Regions from separate parts of the Homo sapiens genome. Here regions 1 and 3 are each linked to region 2. Evidence: promoter capture Hi-C in human tissues and cell types (Jung and others, 2019). All regions are on one chromosome and are shown on one strand. Each heading gives the region's core, a stretch centred on a gene start or on the middle of the fragment in contact. The rest is flanking DNA. Distances are from core to core; before and after follow the strand shown. Region 1 overlaps KREMEN1 (kringle containing transmembrane protein 1). Region 2 holds the start of C22orf31 (chromosome 22 open reading frame 31). Region 3 has its middle 44 kb from the start of EMID1.

Region 1 (4,136 bases), core at 143-2,642, 82 kb before region 2:
GACTGACTTTCCCAGGGTTACCCTCTTTTCGCCACCTCCAACCCCCACTTTATCTCATCTAAGGAGTTTCCTAAAAGTTCAAGTGCCACCTCCTCCATGCTCCTGGAAGCCCACGTCATCTCTTCTGGAGCAGTTTCTTTCTCAGGTGTTTACCTAGCCGCAGTGGCCTTCTGTGGGGTGTCGCTGACTTTCTACCTGGTTCTAACTGAGTCCATAGCCAGGCTGCGGCAGGAGCCAGTGCCCACGGAGGCTTAGCCTGGGATGATTTACAGCCCTCCTGCCCGTACGCTGTCCTGAGCCAGATTTGGGTTTCCCGGGGCTGCTCCACGGATCGTAAGTTGATCCTAGAGGCGCTGGGCCATGCCAGGGCGAGGCAGGAAGAGAAGCGCTGGGGCATCCCCAGCACCTCCCAGGCCCTCCGAGGAAGTGCTGCCCCCGCTGCAGGCTGTGACAGCACATTGGCTTGGGCATGGCCTCCCCTGACTGAGATGTGAGGAGGGCAAGGTGGGCATTTGGGCTGCAGGACACCCCAGAGGCCAGTGGTCAGTGTCAGCCCCAGGCAACTGAACAACTGCCCCCTGGCCGGGTGAACTCTTCCTGGGGCCACGTGCCACATTCCCTTTGTGCTGCACATGGATCTATTCACAGCACAGGACCCGTTGGGACGACACACACCTGACACTTATGTTTGAGAGAGATTCCACAAACAGCATGAATAGCTTGGAGGGGAGACTGCACGTGTTGGTATGTTTCCAGCGGTCCTCCTGTGTGACAGGCCTCTTGGAGACAGAGGCCTGCGGACAGCTGCTCTTTCCAGATCAAAGCATGAAGGCTGCACCGAGCAGCTCTGTGCCCTCAGCAGGCCTCCCACGGGGCCTGGGGTGGCAGTCCTGCCCCTGCCTGCCTGTGACACATTGCTCCGTTTCCCTCCTCTGAAGGCCCCTCTGCCTGAAGCTCCAAGCACCTCTCCTGAACTCAGGCTGCCGAGTGCCACCTCTCCCTGCAGACACTTCCTGTGTGGCCCTCTTTCCTCCCAGGGGCGGCAGGTGCAGAGGTGTTTCCAGAACCTCAGTAGGAGCCCCAGCAGGCAGTGGCTCAGGGCTTGGGGGAGGTAGGCAAAGTGCTGCAAAGAGGAAACGCCAAAGCCAGAGGCGCAACAATCACCCAGGCCCAAGTGCCTTGTGGAGAGGCACGCTCTGACGAGGGCCTAGGCCTGGCCAGCAGAGGCACAGGCTGCTTTTCTCAGCTGCTGTTGACAAAGCCTGATTCCAGATGGCAAGGACTTTTAAATTAGTGATGGCACTTACTCTCCCAACCAGCAGCCACTACAGCTGCAGCACTCAATCTTAGGAGGAGCTCCTTGGAGGAGCTCCAATTCCCAAACCCACCCTCTTCTGGCACCAATCTCTGCAGCCCACCTCCCTATCTAAGGGACAGGGTGGCAAGGGACTGGGGACAAGAGTGCTCTCCTTCCCCACTGAGCCATTCCTAACCCCACTTGGTCCCCACAGGAGGGGCAGAGAGCACGGATGGCCCTTGGAGTGTTTTTTTTTTTTTTGAGACAGAGTCTTGCACTGTCACCCAGGCTGGAGTGCAGTGGCGTGATCTCTGCTCACTGCAAGCTCCGCCTCCCGGGTTCACGCCATTCTCCTGCCTCAGCCTCCCGAGCAGCTGGGACTACAGGCGCCCACCACCACACCCAGCTAATTTTTTGTATTTTTAGTAGAGACGGGGTTTCACCATCTTAGCCAGGATGGTTTCGATCACCTGACCTCGTGATCCACCCGCCTCAGCCTCCCAAAGTGCTGGGATTACAGGCATGAGCCACCGCGCCCGGCCCTTGGGGTGTTTTTTATCTTTTAACACGGGGGACACCAGAAGGAAGGACCACAGGCCCCATGTCTCATATAGTGCTGCCTAAGGGCAAAAACACAAGATTGATACTCTCCACTCTGAACTGAGAGTTAGCTGAGCCAATCATGGAGAGACTGAGGCCTGGCTCAGGTTCCATAGGACCATGAGCTGCTCAGTGGCAAGGCTGATAAAGCCAATCCTGAGTACTTACTGAGTGCCCATAAAAGCTTGCAGGAGAATTTATTGCATGAGTAAATGAATGGATTTTTTTTGTTTATTTGTGTTTTGTTTTTTTGAGACAGAGTCTCACTCTTGTCACCCAGGCTGGAGTGCAGTGGTGCGATCTCGGCTCACTGCAATCTCAGCCTCCTGGGTTCAAGCTGTTCTTCTGTCTCAGCCTTCTGAGTAGCTGGGATTACAGGCGCCTGCCACCACGCCTGACTAATTTTTATATTTTTAGTAGAGACGGGGTTTCACCATGTTGGCCAGGCTGGTCTCGAACTCCTGACCTCAGGTGATCTGCCCGCCTCAGCCTCCCACAGTGCTGGGATTACAGGCATGAGCCATCGCGCCCAGCTGAATGGATGTTTTATATGACCAAAGCTCTTAAAGCTTTCCCTGCAGCTCCATGAGCTATGGAAAGAAGAATCTAGAAAGAAGCCCATGTGTAAGGTATCAGGTTTGATATAAATGGGGGTCACTAGATCTTATTCTCAGACCCTCCCAGGCTGAAGGAGGCCCACCCTAGTCCAGCATCTGGAGAGCAAAGCTGCCGGGGCAGCACAGACACTGCCCTCTTTACACCTCGCTAATGTCCAGGAGTCCGCACTTGTATGGGACCAACTCCCAAGAGTACCTGAGAGTTCTCCCTGTCTGGCCCTGTTCCAAGACATAAAGATCAGGAGAAACTGATTTGTGTGTGGACAAAAATAGAGAAGCAAGAAAAATTCAATGTAACTAAAGCTACCCACCACCTGACAGCCATCTAGAATGTACCTGAGCCCTGTGCCAGCCATGACCACCTCTGTCATCTCAGCCTCACTGTCCTGACACCCCCACTGCTAGCTAGATCAGAGAGAGATGCAGAGAGGGCCGGGCCCCAGGGCTTTGAGTCTCTCTCCTAAGTGCAATCGATGAAGCAGGAGGAATCCAGGCTCTGCCTGCCCTGGCAGCAGGGTGCCTCTTCCTAGTCTGTAGGAGGAGGGTTTCCCCGAAGAGGCCGAGGCAGAGGGAGAGGAGGGGAAGAGTCTGTCAGAGAAGAACCACAGGAGAGGTTGACCACGGCAGCCTTGAGCTCAAAGAGGGACCTCAAGTCCTAGGCACAGTGGGGTTTTTAGTCACTCACAAGGGGATTGCGGTCATCTTGTTGACTCTGACCCTTGAGTTTCTTCTTAAAGATGGAAATTGAAGTGGAAGGCTTGTAAAAAATGCTCCAGATTTCCCCCGAAGTCCCTGGTTGATGACAATCCCTAAGGTCCCCTGAAGCAGGAACACGATGGGATCTGTCAAGCAGATAAATATTTTTTCCAATAGATTAGAACAACGCAAACAACCTACCATCTCACGAGATACTGTATCTATGAAATGGGGTGGGGCAAGGTCTTGGGAAGGACCTCACAGCCACCTCTAAAGATCTGAAGGACTAGCGTGCAACTGAAATGTGGCCTGTGGGCAGCAGGGGCTGAGGCCAAGTGCAGCAGGGCAGCGTCTGCATCAGAATAACAAAGAACTTTCTAACTAGCAGAATTCTTCAAATCTGGAAAAGCCCAGCCTGAGAGATTATGGATTTTCAAATTCTTTTATTTTAAATAAAAGAACTGTCTTCAAATGCCATTTACCTGGAAGCCCACCTAGCTAAAACAAGATAAACACAAAACTTCTCTGCTTCAAGCAGAGACCCGTCTAGCCTCCGGTGCTGGCCCGGACTCTGTTCAGCCCCCACGGCTGCCTGGCAGGGAAGCTGCAGCCGATGTCAGAGGAGAGTTAGGCATGCACTTTAGGGCCTCAGCCATGCTATCAGATGCTGGACGCTATAGGAAGCATTGGGCTCTCTTGCTGCCACAGGGGATGTGGTCAGGACTGAGCCTGAGAGGCTTCCCCAGAGCATGTGAATTGTGACTTTAAAACACACATACACACACACACAGACACACACACACAGACACAGACACACACACACACACATGCACATGCAGACACACACACACACACACACACACGAGGACATTATTTCCACTAAAAATTTCAAGTGTAGGGTGGAGGTGTCTATGTAAAGGGGTTCC
Region 2 (3,952 bases), core at 1,332-3,831:
AGGCAGTATGACTAGGCCCATTTCACAGCTGAGGAAATTAAGGTTCAGGGGTATGAATTCACTTGCCTAATGAAAGATGGATCTGGGATGCCATCACAGGCAGATTCCCTCCTGGGCCTAGAGAAAGTCTCATGACAAGGACAGGACTAGAACTGGGCCCGGGTATGGTAGATGGATGGGCTGACCAACAGAGAGGCCAGGCATCACGGTGATAACTGTGAGTGTTTAAGAACAGGGGCAGTAGGGCTGGGTGTGGTGATTCACACCTGTATTCCTAGCACTTTGGGAGGCCAAGGCAGGTGGATCACCTGAGGTCAAGAGTTTGAGACTAGCCTGGCCAACATGGTGAAACCCCATCTCTACTAAAAATACAAAAATTAGCCCGGCATGATAGTGCGTGCCTATAATCCCAGCTACTTGGGAGGCTGAGGCAGGAGAATCCCTTGAACCTGGGAGGTGGGGGTTGCAGTGAGCCAAGATCGTGCCACTGCACTCCAGCCTGGGTGACAAGAGTGAAACTCCGTCTCAAAAACAAAAACAAAAACAAGGGCAGTATAGACTTTGGTTGGGTTCAGCCTTTGTTGGTTACTTGAGGCATGATACTTGAGCAACTTGTGCCTCAGTTTCTTTATCTGTAAAACAGGGAACAGTGCTCAAACTCATAGGATGGTTGGTAGCATTTCATGACATGATGCTAATAAAGTGGCTAGAACAGTGCCTGGCCTTCAGGAAGCATTCAATAAATATTAGTTTTATTGACATAGGAGAAATAGCTTAGAACAAAGTACCCTGGGTTAGTTCTAAGGAAGGCTGAGGGTTACCTGTTGTGGCATAGTCAATTGAAGTGAGTTACAATGAAGGCAGAGAAGGCAGAATTTGATAGAACTTGAAGAGTATGTATCAAGTGCTGCCCATGTGAACAGCTCTCTGCTGGAAGAAGGAGATTGAGGCTGAGCACAGGCTCACGCCTGTAATCCCAGCACTTTGGGAGGCCAAGGTGGGTGGATCACTTGAGGCCAGGAGTTTGAGACCAGCTGGGCCAACATGGTGAAAACTCATCTCTACTAAAAATACAAAAATTAGCTGGGCTTGGTGGTCCGCGCCTGTAATCCCAGCGTCTTGGGTGGCTGATGCACGAGAATTGCTTGAACCCCAGGAAGCGGAGGTTGCAGTGAGCCGAGATCGCACCACTGCACTCCAGCCTGGGGGACAGAGTGAGTAAAAGACCAAGCAGAGTCATTGAGTAAAAGACCTAGCAGAGTAAATCTAACGGATGAGTGTGTGGAAAGATGAGGTGCAGGAAAGCCAAACTCAAGATGGAGAAGGAGAAAAGAGAAACAGATGACCTACTCCTATTATGCCTTTTTTTGCTTGACATTTCCCTCCTGTCCCTGCTTTGCAGAGTAAAGACAGATGGTAATTTCCAGGTAGCCCAGGAGCCCGGTGCCATTTTTCCAAGACTGACCAGCTTTGAAAAGACTCTTGCCTGCCCAGTCTCCAGACATTCGCAAACTCTTCCCAAAGACAAACCCTTTCCAAAGCCCTGCTCTAAAATCGACCCAGCTCTTAGGAGGTGAGGCCAGGGCTCGCCACTGAAAGGGAGCAATTGTCCTCTCAACTGTCTGTGGGTCCAGCTGCCATAGGCCTGGAGGTGGTTCCACCACAGCCTGTGGTGCGGTCCGCCTGCAGGCTCTGATTCACTCCAGGGACAACACTTAAAAACGCAAGCAGGCAACACATGCGATTCCAGGAGCCCCTGCCAGATTCATACTCTGTTTTTCCATCATTTCACTGGCCTCCCCCTCAGGAGGGAGGCTCCTGAGGCATTTTACAAATAAAAGAATCAAACCCACCAACAGGACGAGCACCTGATAAGCAGTGAGGCATTGCCCAAGAGTTCCCAGGAAGAGGCGGCTTTGTTCTCCTTTCAAGCCCTTGACACTGCTAACAGCTCTAATTACTGCATTTGCCATGGGATGTAAAAGAAACCCACATTCCAGAAACCATGTAGTCTTCCCGGGAGAGACATGCAGGGAAAGGTGCCCAGGTCTGCAGGAACGTGTTCTTTCATTCCTGGTCCCTAACCTTGGCAGCTGTTCTGAGAACTTAACAGTGCCTCCTTTATGTACATGAAGGAGGGCACTTTTGCACATGTAGGGATGCATCTCACTACCCATATCCCCAAATCTGGTCTGCATATTTGACTACATTTCCTGCAAAACATACTTCTTAAGAACATGAAGATCTTCAAAATTCATCCAAGCCATTTTGGGGGAAATGAGGACTTCAGAAGTTTCTGAGGCTAGAAGCAAAACCGTATAGAACTTCTTCCCACATAATTTAACTATAAAATCTGATGATGTAACACCCACCCACACCCACATCACAAACCAAAGTGACATCACAAATACTAGAGATAATGGCTCAAAGCTGCCTGCATTGAGCCCACATCTAAACAAACAGCAATTTGCCCATATGTGACTAAGGCAGAGAAAGACAGGTGACTAGAAATATTAAAACAAAAACAAAAAAAAAGAGAGAGAGAGAAAAAGGAAAGAGAAAATACATATTTCTTCCCCTTACTAAGCTAGCGAAAATAAAATTTAAGGCAACTGAAATATGGTAAGGTGATTTTATTTCTATAGATGACATTTCTTAGAAAGCCAGATCTCTTTAAATATGTGATTCTAATCTATCCAAATTGTTCTGTTGCTCTTAGTTGGTCCCAGGAAATGGAGGCCGGCAGCATTAATGTTTTCGTGTTGCTTTTATGGTCCCCAGAGTATATTGATTTCCCTGTGAATGAGCTCTTCTTGGTGCATGGCAGTTGGTTAGAAAGTGTATTCAGCCGAACATGGTGGCTCATGCTGGTAATCCCAGCACTTTGGGAGGCTGAGGCGGGCGGATCATCTGAGGTGGGGAGTTCGAGGCCAGCCTGACCAACATGGAGAAACCCTGTCTCTACTAAAAATACAACATCAGCTGGGTGCGGTGGTGCATGCCTGTAATCTCAACTACTTCGGAGGCTGAGGCAGAAGAATCCCTTGAGCCCGGGAGGCGGAGGTTGCAGTGAGCCAAGATCACGCCATTGCACTCCAGCCTGGGCAACAAGAGCTAAACTCCGTCCCCCCCACACACAAAAAAAGAAAGTGTAAAGCGTATTCAGGGCTTGGCAGAACTTACCGGCTGTCATGTCTGTGTTGCAGCATGGTTGAGTGTCTACAGCTCATATGGAAGTCTTGAGTGACCCTGCCGTCCGTATCTTTCCAGCAGGCAGGAATTGTCTTCAATTCCTTGTGAACCCTCCCTGACCCCCGACTTCCTGCCCTGGCATGCTATGTTCTTTGAGAGCCTGAATATTACTGTAACCTTGTGGAGTGACTATCTCCTCCCTACTTGGTATAAAAGGCTTTGGTGAACAGGAGAGGACATATAGTAAATTTCTAAGAACTGGGTGGAAGGAATGGCCTATAAAAAGATGTTAATATTTTGCCTTCAAAGTAGACCTTTTATTCTCTGCTGAAGAACGGTCCTTTTAAAATTCATTTCTCCCTCCTTATAATTCTAGCACCCAATCAATGTGAGACGAGACCCCAGCATCCCTATCTATGGACTCCGACAGTCCATCTTATTAAATACCAGGCTTCAGGACTGCTATGTGGACTCACCGGCTCTCACCAACATCTGGATGGCCAGAACATGTGCAAAGCAGAACATTAATGCCCCAGCACCAGCTACCACTTCCTCTTGGGAAGTTGTAAGGAACCCATTAATTGCCAGTTCCTTCTCCCTGGTTAAGCTTGTACTCAGGCGGCAACTGAAGAATAAGTGCTGCCCACCACCATGCAAGTTTGGAGAAGGAAAACTCTCGAAGAGATTAAAGCACAAGGACGATTCAGTGATGAAAGCCACCCAGCAGGCCAGGAAAAGAAACTTCATCAGTTCCAAGAGC
Region 3 (4,355 bases), core at 610-3,109, 100 kb before region 2:
CACTGTTATAAAGAAATGCCTGAGGCCGGGCGTGGTGGCTCATGCCTGTAATCCCAGCACTTCGGGAGGCTGAGGTGGGTGGATCACTTGAGGTCAGGAGTTCCAGACCAACCTGGCCAACATGATGAAACCCTGTCTCTACTAAAAATACAAAAATTAGCTGGGCGTGGTGGTGGCCCCTGTAATCCCAGCTATTCGGGAGACTGAGGTAAGAGAATCGTTTGAACCCGGGAGGCGGATATTGCAGTGAGCCGAGTTCGCGCCACTGCACTCCAGCCTGGGCGATGAGAGTGAAACTCCATCTCAAAAAAACAAAACAAGAAAGAAATACCTGAAACTGGGTAATTTATAAAGGAAAGAGGCTTAATTGACTCACAGTTTCGCATTATTTGCTGGGGAGGCCTCAGGAAACTTACAAGCATGGCGGAAGGCAAAAGGAGAAGCAGACACCTCCTTCAAGAGATGGCAGGAGAGCGTGAGAGCTAGAGCAGGAAAAAATTCCACTTTTAAAACCATCAAATCTCGCGACATTCACTCACTATCACGAGAACGGCGGGGCGGTGGGGAATTGCCCCGGTAATCCTTCCCTCCCTCAACACGTGGGGATTACAGGTCCCTCCTTGGCAAGCAGGGATTACGATTCGAGATGAGATTTGTGTGAGGACACAGAGCCAAACCATATCAGTACCCAATGTTTATGGTTTTATGTACTTGTGAATGGCCTCCAGCTGGATCTGTATTGCTGCAAAGTACATGATTTAATTCTTTTTTATGATTATGTAGTATTCCACAATGTATATGTACTATGATTTCTTTATCTAATCCACCATTGATGGGCACCTACGTTGATTCCTTGTCTTTGCTATTGTGAATAGTGCCGCAATGCACACACAAGTGCCTATGTCATTTTGGTATAATACTTTGTTTCCTTTTGGATATATACCCAATAATGGAATTGCTTTTTTTTCTTTTTTTCTTTTTTTTTGTGTGACGGAGTTTTGCTCTTGTTGCCCAGGCTGGAATGCAGTGGCACAATCTCGGTTCACTGCAGCCTCCACCTCCAGGGTTCAAGCAATTCTCCTGCCTCCCGAGTAGCTGAGATTACAGGCATCTGCCACCACGCCCAGCTAATTTTCTGTATTTTTAGTGGAAACGGGGTTTCACCATGTTGGCCAGGCTGGTCTTGAACTCCTGACCTCAGTTCATCCACTTGCCTCAGCCTCCCAGAGTGCTGGGATTATAGGTGTGAGCCACTGTGCCCGGCCGGCATTGCTTTTCTTGTTCCAAGGGGGAATGCTTCAGTGTTTGCCTATTCAGTATGATGTTGGCTGTGGGTTTGTCATAGATGGCTCTTATTATTTTGAGGTACATTCCTTCGATGCCTAGTTTCTTGAGGGTTTTTATCACGAAAGGATGTTGGAGTTTATTGAAAGCATTTTCTGCATCTATTGGGATGATGGTTTTTGTTTGTAATTCTGTTTATGTGGTGAATCACATTTATTGATTCATGCATGTTGAACCAATCTTGCATCACAGGAATGAAACCTACTTGATCATAGTGAATTAATCTTTTTTTTTTTTTTGAGGTAGAGTCTCGCTCTGTTATTCAGGCTAGAGTGCAGTGACACAATCTCGGCTCACTGCAACCTCCACCTCCAGGTTCAAGTGATTCTCCTGCCTCAGCCTCCCGAGGAGCTGGGATTATAGACATGCACCACCATACCTGGCTAATTTTTTTGTATTTTTAGTAGAGATGGGGTTTCGCCATGTTGGTCAGGCTGGTCTCGAACTTATGGCCTCTAGTGATCTATCCACCTCAGCCTCCCAAAGTGCTGGGATTACAGCATGAGCCACCACCCGGCCAACTTTTTGATGTGCTGTTGAATTCAGTTTGCTAGTATTTTGTTGAGGATTGTTGTGTCTATGTTCATCAGGGATATTGGCCTGAAGCTTTCTTTTTTCACTGTGTCTTTGCCAGGTTTTGAGGTCAGGGTGATGCTGGCTTCATAGAATGAGTTAGAGAAGAGTTCCTCCTACCTGATTTTTTGGAATAGTTTCAGTAGAATTGGTAGCAGCTCTTCCTTGTACATCTGGTGGAATGTGGCTGTAAATATAACTGGTCCAAAGCATTTTTTGGCTGGTAAGTTTTTTAGTACCAATTCAATATCTTTTTTTTTTTTTTTTTTTTTTTTTGAGATGGAGTCTCACTCTGTCACCCAGGCTGGAGTGCAGTGGCGCAATCTCAGCTCACTGCAAGCTCTGCCTCCCGGGTTCACGCCATTCTCCTGCCTCAGCCTCCCAAGTAGTTGGGACTACAGGCGCCTGCCACCACGCCTGGCTAATTTTTTGTATTTTTAGTACAGACGGGGTTTCATCATGTTAGCCAGGATGGTCTCGATCTCCTGACCTCATGATCTGCCCACCTTGGCCCCCCAAAGTGCTGGGATCACAGGCATGAGCCACCACGCCTGGCCAGTGCTGATTCAATTTCTGAACATGATATTGATTTGTTCAGTCTTTCAGTTTCTTCCTGATTCACTCTTGGGAGATGGTGTGTTTCCAGGAATTTATCTATTGCCTCTAGATTTTCTAGTTTATGTGTGCAGAGGTGTTCATAATAGTCTCTGAGGATCTTTTGTATTGTGGGGTCCCTTATTACAAGTGACACATTTGTTATTTCTGATTTTGCTTATTTGATCTCTCTTTCTTTGTTAATCTAGCTAGCGGTTTACTGATCCTGTTTATCCTTTCAAATAATCAACTTTTGGTTTTGCTGATTCTTTGTATGAATTTTTGTGTCTCAATTTCATTAAGTTCTACTCTGATTTTAGTTATTTCTTTTCTTCTGCTATCTTCTGGGTTAGCTTGTTCTTGTTTTTCTAGTTCCTCTATGTGCGATATTAGATGGTTAATCTGAGGTCTAACTTCTTGAGGTAGGCATTGAGCACCATCAGCTTTCCTCTTAACACTGCTTTTGCTGCATCCCAGAGATTTTGGTATTTTGTATCTCTGTTTTCATTTCTTTCAAAGAATTTTTTTGATTTTGTGCCTTTATTTTGTTGTTTACCCCCAAAATCATTCAGGAGCAAGTCATTTAATTTTCATGTAATTGTATGGTTTTGAGAGATCTTCTTAATTTTTTTTTTTTTTTTTTTTTTTTGAGACGGAGTCTCGGTCTGTCACCCAGGCTGGAGTGCAGTGGCATGATCTCGGCTCACTGCAACCTCCATCTCCCAGGTTCAAGTGATTCTCCTGCCTCAGCCTCCCGAGTAGCTGGGATTACAGGCACCTGCCACCATGCTTAGCTAATTTTTTTTTTTTTTGTATTTTTAGTTGAGACAGGGTTTCACCATGTTGGGCAGGCTGGTCTCGAACTCCTGACCTCAAGTGATCCACCTGCCTTGGCCTCCCGAAGTGCTAGGATTACAGGAGTGAGCCACCACACCCAGCCGAAATCTTCTTAGTATTTTCCGTCTTCATTCTACTGTGGTCCAAGAGTATGGCTGGTATGATTTTGATTTTTTTGAATGTATTGAGACTTGCTCTATGGCTGAGCATGTGGTTGATCTTGGAATATGTTCCATGTGTGGATGAGAAGAATGTATATTCTGTGGCTGATGGGTGGAGTTTTCCATAGATGTCTAATAGGTCCAATTGGTCAAGTGCTGAGTTTAAGTCCAGAAATTCTTTGGTAGTTTTCTGCCTTGATGATCTGTCTAATGCTGTCAGTGGGGTGTTGAAGTCCTCCACTATTATGGGGCTAAGAGACCTTATCTTTAAAAAAAAGTCCAGGTCTCCTTAAGTGTTTCTACATATATATAAGTAGAGTCCCCTGAGGTTAGCCTCCCTCTTGCTTTAATCTGATGTCCCCATTTTCCTATATGGGCACGGACTTCATCCACCCATCTGCCATCCTCAACATCACGTCACGTGCAGAGTTCATCGTTCTCTGTTTGTGAAAAATCTCTCACCAGTAAGCACCTGTTTCTGACCAGTCTTGCTCCTTAGCAAGGAGAGTCTGAAACCTGTGCTTCCTGAATGTTTGTTTATTTATTTATTTTTGTTTTTGTTTTTTATTTTTTAGACAGAGTCTCGCTCTGTTGCCCAGGCTGGAGTGCAGTGACGTGATCTCGGCTCACTGCAACCTCCGTCTCCTGGGTTCATGCAATTCTCCTGCCTCAGCCTCCTGAGTAGCTGGGATTACAGGCGTGCGCCACCACACCTGGCTAATTTTTGTATTTTTAGTAGAGATAGGGTTTCACCATGTTGGTCAGGCTGGTCTCGAACTCCTGACCTCAAGATCCACCCGCCTCAACCTCCCAAAGAGCTGGGATTACAGGCATCAGCCACCGCTC

The links. Contacts are between HindIII fragments. The study calls those that stand out against the background at their distance.
Region 1: a fragment that was not itself captured here is called in contact with the fragment with the promoter of C22orf31 in region 2 in 2 of the 25 tissues and cell types used here (liver and mesenchymal stem cells).
Region 3: a fragment that was not itself captured here is called in contact with the fragment with the promoter of C22orf31 in region 2 in 3 of the 25 tissues and cell types used here (IMR-90 fibroblasts, aorta and mesenchymal stem cells).

The regions. Positions count from the first base shown.
Region 1 is chr22:29,141,164-29,145,299 of GRCh38, reverse strand. KREMEN1 (kringle containing transmembrane protein 1) reads right to left here. Exons shown (of 9, transcript NM_001039570.3): 9 at 1-3,356. The coding sequence ends at 3,188. Among named protein-coding and RNA genes, the nearest start is that of EMID1, 63 kb to the left of the region's middle. RefSeq lists enhancers at 3,302-3,801, 3,802-4,136. The HindIII fragment of the contact is 4,164 bases long and covers 1-3,474 here.
Region 2 is chr22:29,060,460-29,064,411 of GRCh38, reverse strand. It overlaps C22orf31 (chromosome 22 open reading frame 31), which reads left to right and starts at 2,581. Exons shown (of 3, transcript NM_015370.2): 1 at 2,581-2,622; 2 at 3,569-3,952. The coding sequence starts at 2,620. RefSeq lists an enhancer at 1,444-2,211. The HindIII fragment of the contact is 14,185 bases long and covers 1,167-3,952 here.
Region 3 is chr22:29,159,345-29,163,699 of GRCh38, reverse strand. It overlaps a transcript of KREMEN1 not described here. Among named protein-coding and RNA genes, the nearest start is that of EMID1, 44 kb to the left of the region's middle. The HindIII fragment of the contact is 5,684 bases long and covers 1-4,355 here.